Regions from separate parts of the Homo sapiens genome. Here region 1 is linked to region 2. The links are contacts of gene promoters, found by promoter capture Hi-C in blood cells and fetal thymus (Javierre and others, 2016). All regions are on one chromosome and are shown on one strand. Each heading gives the region's core, a stretch centred on a gene start or on the middle of the fragment in contact. The rest is flanking DNA. Distances are from core to core; before and after follow the strand shown.

The links. The method cuts DNA at HindIII sites, captures the fragments that hold promoters and counts their contacts. A CHiCAGO score of 5 or more calls a contact.
Region 1: a fragment that was not itself captured here is called in contact with the fragment with the promoter of ZNF639 in region 2 in 1 of 17 cell types (fetal thymus); the score reaches 9.5 in fetal thymus.

Annotation. Positions count from the first base shown.
Region 1 is chr3:174,439,071-174,442,609 of GRCh38, forward strand. LOC105374226 (a long non-coding RNA gene) reads right to left here and starts at 1,579. Exons shown (of 4, transcript XR_924729.3): 1 at 1-1,579. It also overlaps a transcript of NAALADL2 not described here. RefSeq lists enhancers at 1-1,049, 1,678-2,329. The HindIII fragment of the contact is 2,830 bases long and covers 347-3,176 here.
Region 2 is chr3:179,321,169-179,324,786 of GRCh38, forward strand. ZNF639 (zinc finger protein 639) reads left to right here and starts at 1,863. Exons shown (of 6, transcript NM_001303426.2): 1 at 1,863-2,123. RefSeq lists silencers at 1,593-2,032, 2,063-2,202 and an enhancer at 2,773-2,822. The HindIII fragment of the contact is 4,241 bases long and covers 1-2,958 here.

The DNA.
Region 1 (3,539 bases), core at 512-3,011, 4.9 Mb before region 2:
GAAGTTGCCGAAAGAAGCACTTTCACGTCTTTTACCCTGAAGAAGTTCTCCTAAGAAAAAGCAAATCATTACAAGAATCTAATAGAGGTTTTTAATTTTTATTTTTTCCTTTTTTGAAGGTCTGGCTGGTGGAGGGAGGCCCCCATTTTTCTTTATAGAATAGGAAAAACTTTCCTCCAGTCTTTGGTTCTTACGGTAATTAAGGAATAGAACTGTTTCTGATTTCTAGTCCATTCCCTTTCACTCGAGTCGTATTATTTTCTTGTCTGAAAAAACTTCTGATTTCACATCTGCCAACTACTCTTATTCTCATTAAAACTTCAGCTAAAAAACCTTTCTTTCACAAAGCTTTACCCTCTTAGAGAGGCCTAGCTGAAATTCCTTCCATTCTTTCGTATTAATTAAAAGCACCTTTCCCGTAGGCGGTTCCACTGTAAAAAATCATATTATAAAAATGGATAAAAAGCAATACGGTGAAAGTAGAAACAAAGGGGAGGGAAAATGAAAGTGGGAGAAACGGTTGCTTGTTTTGGAATCTGTAACTGTAAGCTCCTGGTGGGTGGATACTCGTACATTAAGTAACTAGTTTGGCTTTTAAGTTCACTTCTCAAATCTTTATTCACACTCTTTTCTTCTAAAATTGACAGAAGTACAGAAGGGAACATCACACAGTAAAACTAACCAGAATGCGTCCATCTGGCATGCCTTTCAGGAATCCAGCCCACTAATATTTGCTGTGGGTTTCATGACTCAACCCTTCAAGATGCCGCACAAGGAAGAATTTCCTCATTTTGCAGAACTGCCAAATCTCATTCACTGGAGCAAAGGCTCCTCATTTGGGGCTCATTTTTAGACAGTTGTTTCTCTGTTTATACATTGTAAAAATCTCCCTCAGCGGATGGAGTTTGTCATGCATTTCTAAATAGTGAGTAAACATATTCCTCCACTCCCTCCCGGCAGGACACACTTCAGCATTTTGGCCACTGAGCCTAGTTGAATTTCTCTCTCCTTCCTTCCTCCCCTCTTCCCACGCAGCCTAGCTTTATTCTTGCTTCCTTGGTTTTATTTCTTCCTCTCTTCCTCCCTTTTTCTTCCTTCCCTACCTTCAGCCACATCTTTCAGCCTCGTTTGTTCCTTGGAGGCTTTTATTCACCCCTCTTCCTCTCTTCTTTCCTCCTTCCCCCTTCTTCCTTCCCTCGCTTCAGCTACTTCTCTTAGCCCCGTTTGTTCCTTCCAGGCTCCACTTTCTTCTCTTCCATTGGTAATTTGTCTAATTTACTCCACTTGAAAAAAGAAAAATCTTGATTTATATTCGTATCTTCTTCCATTCAAAACTGTTATCTAAGTTCCTCTTTATTATCTCCTCCCTCCTATTTTAAAATAACAATTAACATTTAGCGAGTGCTAAGTGCAGGCAGGATGCCAAGCTCTCTCGCAGTCTCTCTTGAGGGAGGTACCTTTATTATCCTGTTTCATGGATGAAAAACAAAAGCACAGAATTCAAGTAACTTGCGTAAGTCACGAAGCTATAACCAGGAATTTGGCTCTGCAAGCAATGGGCTTTAAAAATTCTTTTAAAAGTTTTATTAGATTCAAAGACTATGTATAAAATATATGCAAATTATAAACGAAACATATCTTTTGATGGGCACCATGGGGGCAAGTTTCCAGTTTTGCCCATTAAAAAAAAAATCCTTCCCAATTTTTGAGGCTTGTGCCATTGAACACTGCTGCCCGCGGCTCTTCTTCCCACTTGGCTCGACAAACGCGTCTTTTATTATGACTCAGCCCAGCCCGTTCCTTGCCAAGCGGCTGACGCTCGCGGCGGAGGCGCCGGGGCCGCCGCTCGGGGGCGAGGGTTCGCGCCGCGGCTCGCGCCCGCTTCTCCCGCTTTACGGCTGCTGAAAATCCGGCCTGGCCCGGCAGCCGTACCGCAGACGAGCCCGCGCCCGCGCCGCTCAGGTAATCGGAGTCCTTTTCTTTTCAAAGTTTTGCCAAAACAAGCTCCGCGCTCTGAGGCGGCGCGGCCTCGGCCGAGCGGTCCGTGTCTCCTTGCTCCTCCGTCCTACCCAAGCTGGCGCGACTGAGCTGTGGGCCGCACCCCTGCGCGGGGCCCGGGGCGCCGACCCGGCGTGAAGTACGGGGGCCGAGGGGCGCCCGGCCGGCGGCGGGTTCTGAGCGACTCCGCGGGGTGGCGCGCGGGGCACCTGGCTCTGGCAGTCCGCGAGGCGCGCTGGCCAAAGGAGCTCCCAACCCGCTCCAAGGCCCCCGCCCACCTCCCGAAGCCGCTTGTCTTAGGAGAGGAGCGTAGCAGCTCCGAGTCCCCGCTTCTGACACGTTCACACACGTATGCAGTGCACGCCGGCCAGGCAGCCCGACACGGCGCGCTAGCGGGGCGCAGGTAAAGAGCGGCGCCGCGGGCCCGCGCGTTCGAAATGGCGCGCAGCACAGTTCCGCCCCCGCGCGTGGAATGCCGCTCCAGTGGACGCCCAGGATGGCTTTCTTAAGGAAGTTTATGAGAAGCCATGGAAAGAGCAGCCTGGGATCAGAGCCTGCGCTGCTGGTTCTACCCTAACGTCTGGCTTACTACCACATTTGCCCTACAGTTGCATTGCTTCATAGCTCGTCCTCCCTATTTTCCCCCACATTCTTTGCTTTTTTTTTTTTTTCATTTTTCCTTTGTATTGCGTCTCTTGGTGCCTTGTGTTCTTTTCCCCCTCACTTTTAGAATAGCAATTGAATAGCATACAGTAGCCTTTACATTTCAACCTATGGTCCTTAAGCTGTCTTTATTTACTAGGGCTTGCATCCTGAGGAGTGTAAAGGATTAATTAACTGTGGATTAAGTTGCTGGACTGAAAGTTGTGTTGCAGTTATCCCTGCGGAACAGAAAAGATAGACTTTTTTTTTAACCACCCGAGAACCTTAAGATAATGGTGTTGCTTCTGTTGAAGGAATACATCTTGACAAACATTAAAAATTATGTCATAGGATCCTGTAGTATCCACTCCAGTGAGTTCGATTTGGTAACGGTTCTTTGTCATCTGTGAGTTAGATTCTGTGCTGACTGGTGACAGGTTAACAGAGAAGAGATTCCGTTCCTGTCCTCAGGAGAAGGGACCATGGTGAGCACTGGCTTAATCCTACGAAGTGCTCTGGGAGAATGGGGGAGGAAAAGCTTAAAAGGAAGAGTTGGGTTTAAAACTGGATTCTTGGTATTTTAAGTACGATTTTCACCATTTTTTCCCACACCCCAAGAATTCTTAATGGAAAGGGGAATTATTTTAACAATACTTTCACCTTTAATTTTTTAGAGATTTTTTTTCTCCTTTACAATCGGCAGTAATGTCTGATCTCAAGACTTATGGGAAATGTAAAAGTAACTCCTCTTAATAAGGATGACGTAATGCATTCCTGATAACATAAAAAGAGTATTAAAGACCTTTAATGTAGGACGACTAACAAGAATGAAATGTAATTTATTAATTGCTTACATAAAGCATTATTATATTTAGGTAGAACACTCAATACTTATTAGT
Region 2 (3,618 bases), core at 613-3,112:
GCTCGCGCCTGTAATCTCAGCTAATCTGAAGGGTGGGGCACGAGAATTGCTTGAATTTAGGAGGTGGAGATTGCAGTGAGCCGATATCCCATCTCTGTACTGGAGCCTGGGCGACAGAGTGAGACCGTGAGAAAGAAAAAAGAAAAAAAAGAAAAGGAAGGAAGGAAAGGAAGGAGAAATTAAGCTATTCTACAAGTGTGTGAAAAAGTTGGAAGAACGATGTTTTAATAGCCCTGAATCAAATTTATAATAGTATTTAACAAACTCTACAATTTAGCACTCTTGAGATTTTAGGGTTTTATCCCAGCTATCACCCTCCCTTGGAGCGGGAGATGAGGAAAAGAGGGACCCAAAAATGAAACTGAAAAACACTCCAGCTAATCAAGAACTTGAAATTGCTTGCAATTTGTGACTATGTTAAACAACATCTAAACAAAGTCAAGCTCCTCTAAGTGCAAACAATACGTGGGATGCTGGGGAGAGTGTGCGTTTACTTTCACTACAAAATGTTTTGGAGTAAAACTTCATTTTGAAATATAAAGATTTTGTTGGACACAAGGCTATGTGGTAAGGCAAAATGGTAAGATGGTGGCATGACACCCCCTTGTGGTTTCCACCGATTCCCGGTTCTGTGCTAGATACTAACTATTCTAGGATTTAAAAATGTCTCTACATTTCTTCGAACTTTAATTCGGGCCATACTAGCATTCGTGAGCATTTATTTGAGCTGAGTACGCACATAAAACTTAGGAGGTCATAAAAACTGAGCCTCACAAACAAGTAGTGTCTCTTTCAAATATAGCTTTATCTCCTGGGGGATGGTGAAGGGATCAGAGTAAAGTCTGTGATTATTACTTTCCAGCGATTGATTGGTTGATTGGCATGTGGTTGTCAGAAAAAGCAGTGGACGTGAACAAAGAGACATCATTGCAGCCCTAACTATCCGAGTGACCTTGGGTACCTGATAATCCACATGGCTCTCAGTCATCCTCTTAACCGTTTGAACCTCAGGGGTTTAGGCTACCAAAATGAATTAAGACCCAGTCTTTAGCTTCTCACACATTTACTTTTCCATTTTGTAAAATGTGACTAAAAACCTCAACTCATTGTCAAAAGGACTGAATTAAACATATCACCACACTTGCACAGAGATCATTTATGGAACCATGTTCACAAATTTATTTATGCTCGTGTAATTTAATCATTTCTACAGCTGCTCAAAGAAAGTCAAAGTCGAGAAAGGACTTAAATCGTCGAGTCCAGTCCCCCTTAACTCCTCATTCATTCCACTATTTCTCGAGCCAAGGAATCGGGTGAAACTCAACAACGACTCGCAGTCTTCAGGTTTCACCCTCTTGCCCTGAGGGCAGCATCCTAGCCCTAGGTGGTTCTCTGGTGTGGCCTCAGTAAAACCGTGACGAGGTCCTCGGCCTCTCTGTCCCCAACAGGCGGCTGGCACACTTCGGGGTCTGAGATGCCATCTGCCTTGCCTAACCTGGGCAAGACCACTCGCGTCCTTTCCCTTGAGGAGCAGCGTGGGAAAGGTGCCGCTGCGCGCCACGTTTCTCCCAGTTCCCCAGGGCTTGAAGGGGCGGTGGAGGCGGGCGGGATAAATTCGCTGGCCGCCTGGCGTGGAGTAATCCTAGAGGGTGGGATCGCCCTCGGGGCTCGGGAGGGGCTCTTCCCCGCCCAGAAGGAGACTGCGGCGGCGCAAGGCCTCCGGCAGGGGGCGCGGGCCGCTGGGCCTCCCCCGGGGCTGCGGGCCGGTGGTCCCTCCCAGGCCGCGTGTGCGGTGCGTTCGCGCAGCCCGCTCCCTGCCCCCACCTCACCTCGTCACCTCCCCGCCCTCTCGGCGGGCCCCTGAGGTGCGCGGCGCAGGCGCGGAGCGTGGCGGCCAGGGCAGTGCGGCCGCGGAGCCTAGGCCAGGGGCCTGGCGCTCAGGGCGTGGGGCGCGCGGGGAGGGAGAGGGGTCGGCCCAGCACAGCGTCCGGGAGCGCTAGGGCCGGAGCAGCGCTGCCCGCCGCCGTGCGTCCGCGGGAAGGACCGCGCGGCCCCTCCGCCTGCGCTCTCGGCCGCCGCCGCCTCTGCGTGGGCCGGCCGGGAGGGCCTCGGGGGACTGACTGGTGAGTGTGAGGGAGGAGCGGGTGGGTCGGGCGCTGGACTGCTCCAGGGGACGCGGGCGTGCGGGCGCATCTTCTAACGGGAGAGGGCGGGAGAGACCGGAGCTCCCTTTATACGGAAACTCTGCCTTCGTTATATGGCGGGATGGCGTTCCCCTCCCCCATCCCGAAGGCAGTTCCACCCCCTGCGCAGGACGCCTTGGCCGGGCTCCCCTCGGCCCCCTGCTGCCGTTGTCTTTACGGAACCTTTGGTGTCGGGGCTTGGAAGTCTCCTTGGCGCCGGCTTCTGGGCCCGGGCGAAGCTGGTGCGTGGCGCCGGGGTGGAGGCGGCTAAGTCCCAGGGACTTCTGCCCTGCGCCTCCGACGGGCATTTGTCTGGCTGCGTCCGGGCTCGGGACGATCCTGGGTCCTCGCTGGCGCTGCGGCCCTGCCCGGCGGCTTCGTGACCTCCGGCGGCGAATCCCCGGGCTCGCGCAACGAGTTGTAGCCGCGGAGAGCAGGCGTCGATGCTGGCGCCCAAAGCCTCCAGCCTGAGAGTCGCCTCACTCGTGTGACGGTGCTTAGAAACCCCCTTTTTTGGTTTTGTCTTTAAGTACTGTCTAGGGAAACGAATCATTTGAAGCAGTTTATGCCTTTTTTGTTTTTTTCGAAGAGAAAGATTTATGCCGGACTGAAAAATAGCGAATCAAGTATTTAGTGACCGTGTGATATTGCAGTAAAGACTGCCTCCACGTTGGACATGTAGTGGATTCTAGTTCAGGCTCTCCTGCAACATGTTTTTGTTTCAATTCTTTTACAATTTAAAGCATATGCTTATTTTAATGAGAACGAAAAAGAAAGCTTAACTCTTTTTAAACTCGTTAAAAATGGAGTTATTTACTGTAAAGACGTCTTACAGCAATTAGGAAGAATATACATTGCATGAAAGGCCTTTTGAAACGTTTATCTATTTGATGATTGCTGACTGCCTGTTGTATGTATTCTATTTTGTGCATAGACTTTCTTGTTGGTTGAAAAAAATGACAGGTGGAAAGATGTTGGTTTCTAGGTGATATAAAAAATTTTTAAACATTTTTCTGATTTTTCTGCAGTGACACGTGTTACATATGTCGTTTGTATTTCAGAGGGAGGGGGGACTGTGATAGGTTGCTTGTGATTCAGAATCTTCCTGCTAAGAAGACTAGTGAGCAAATGTTTATGACATCCTTGAGTAGAAAGCTAAGTTTTTTCAAGGCTGTTATGCACACAAAAGGCACATAAAAATGATTGCTAAAATGAAGGATGGTTAGCATTTTTGGTCTTGAGTAGGCATCACCATTGTGCTGAAAGGAAGTCCGATAGACATTTGGTTATCGTTCGGCCCTAAGTAGGAGTCAGACCCTTCCTGATCCGTGTGCCTCCTCCTCTCACCTAACAGCCTGAATCCAGGCCAGCTTGCAACGTTGATTTTAATACCACGCTTGGTTTCCTTTTCTTACTTTTATTCTTCAAGTTGCAA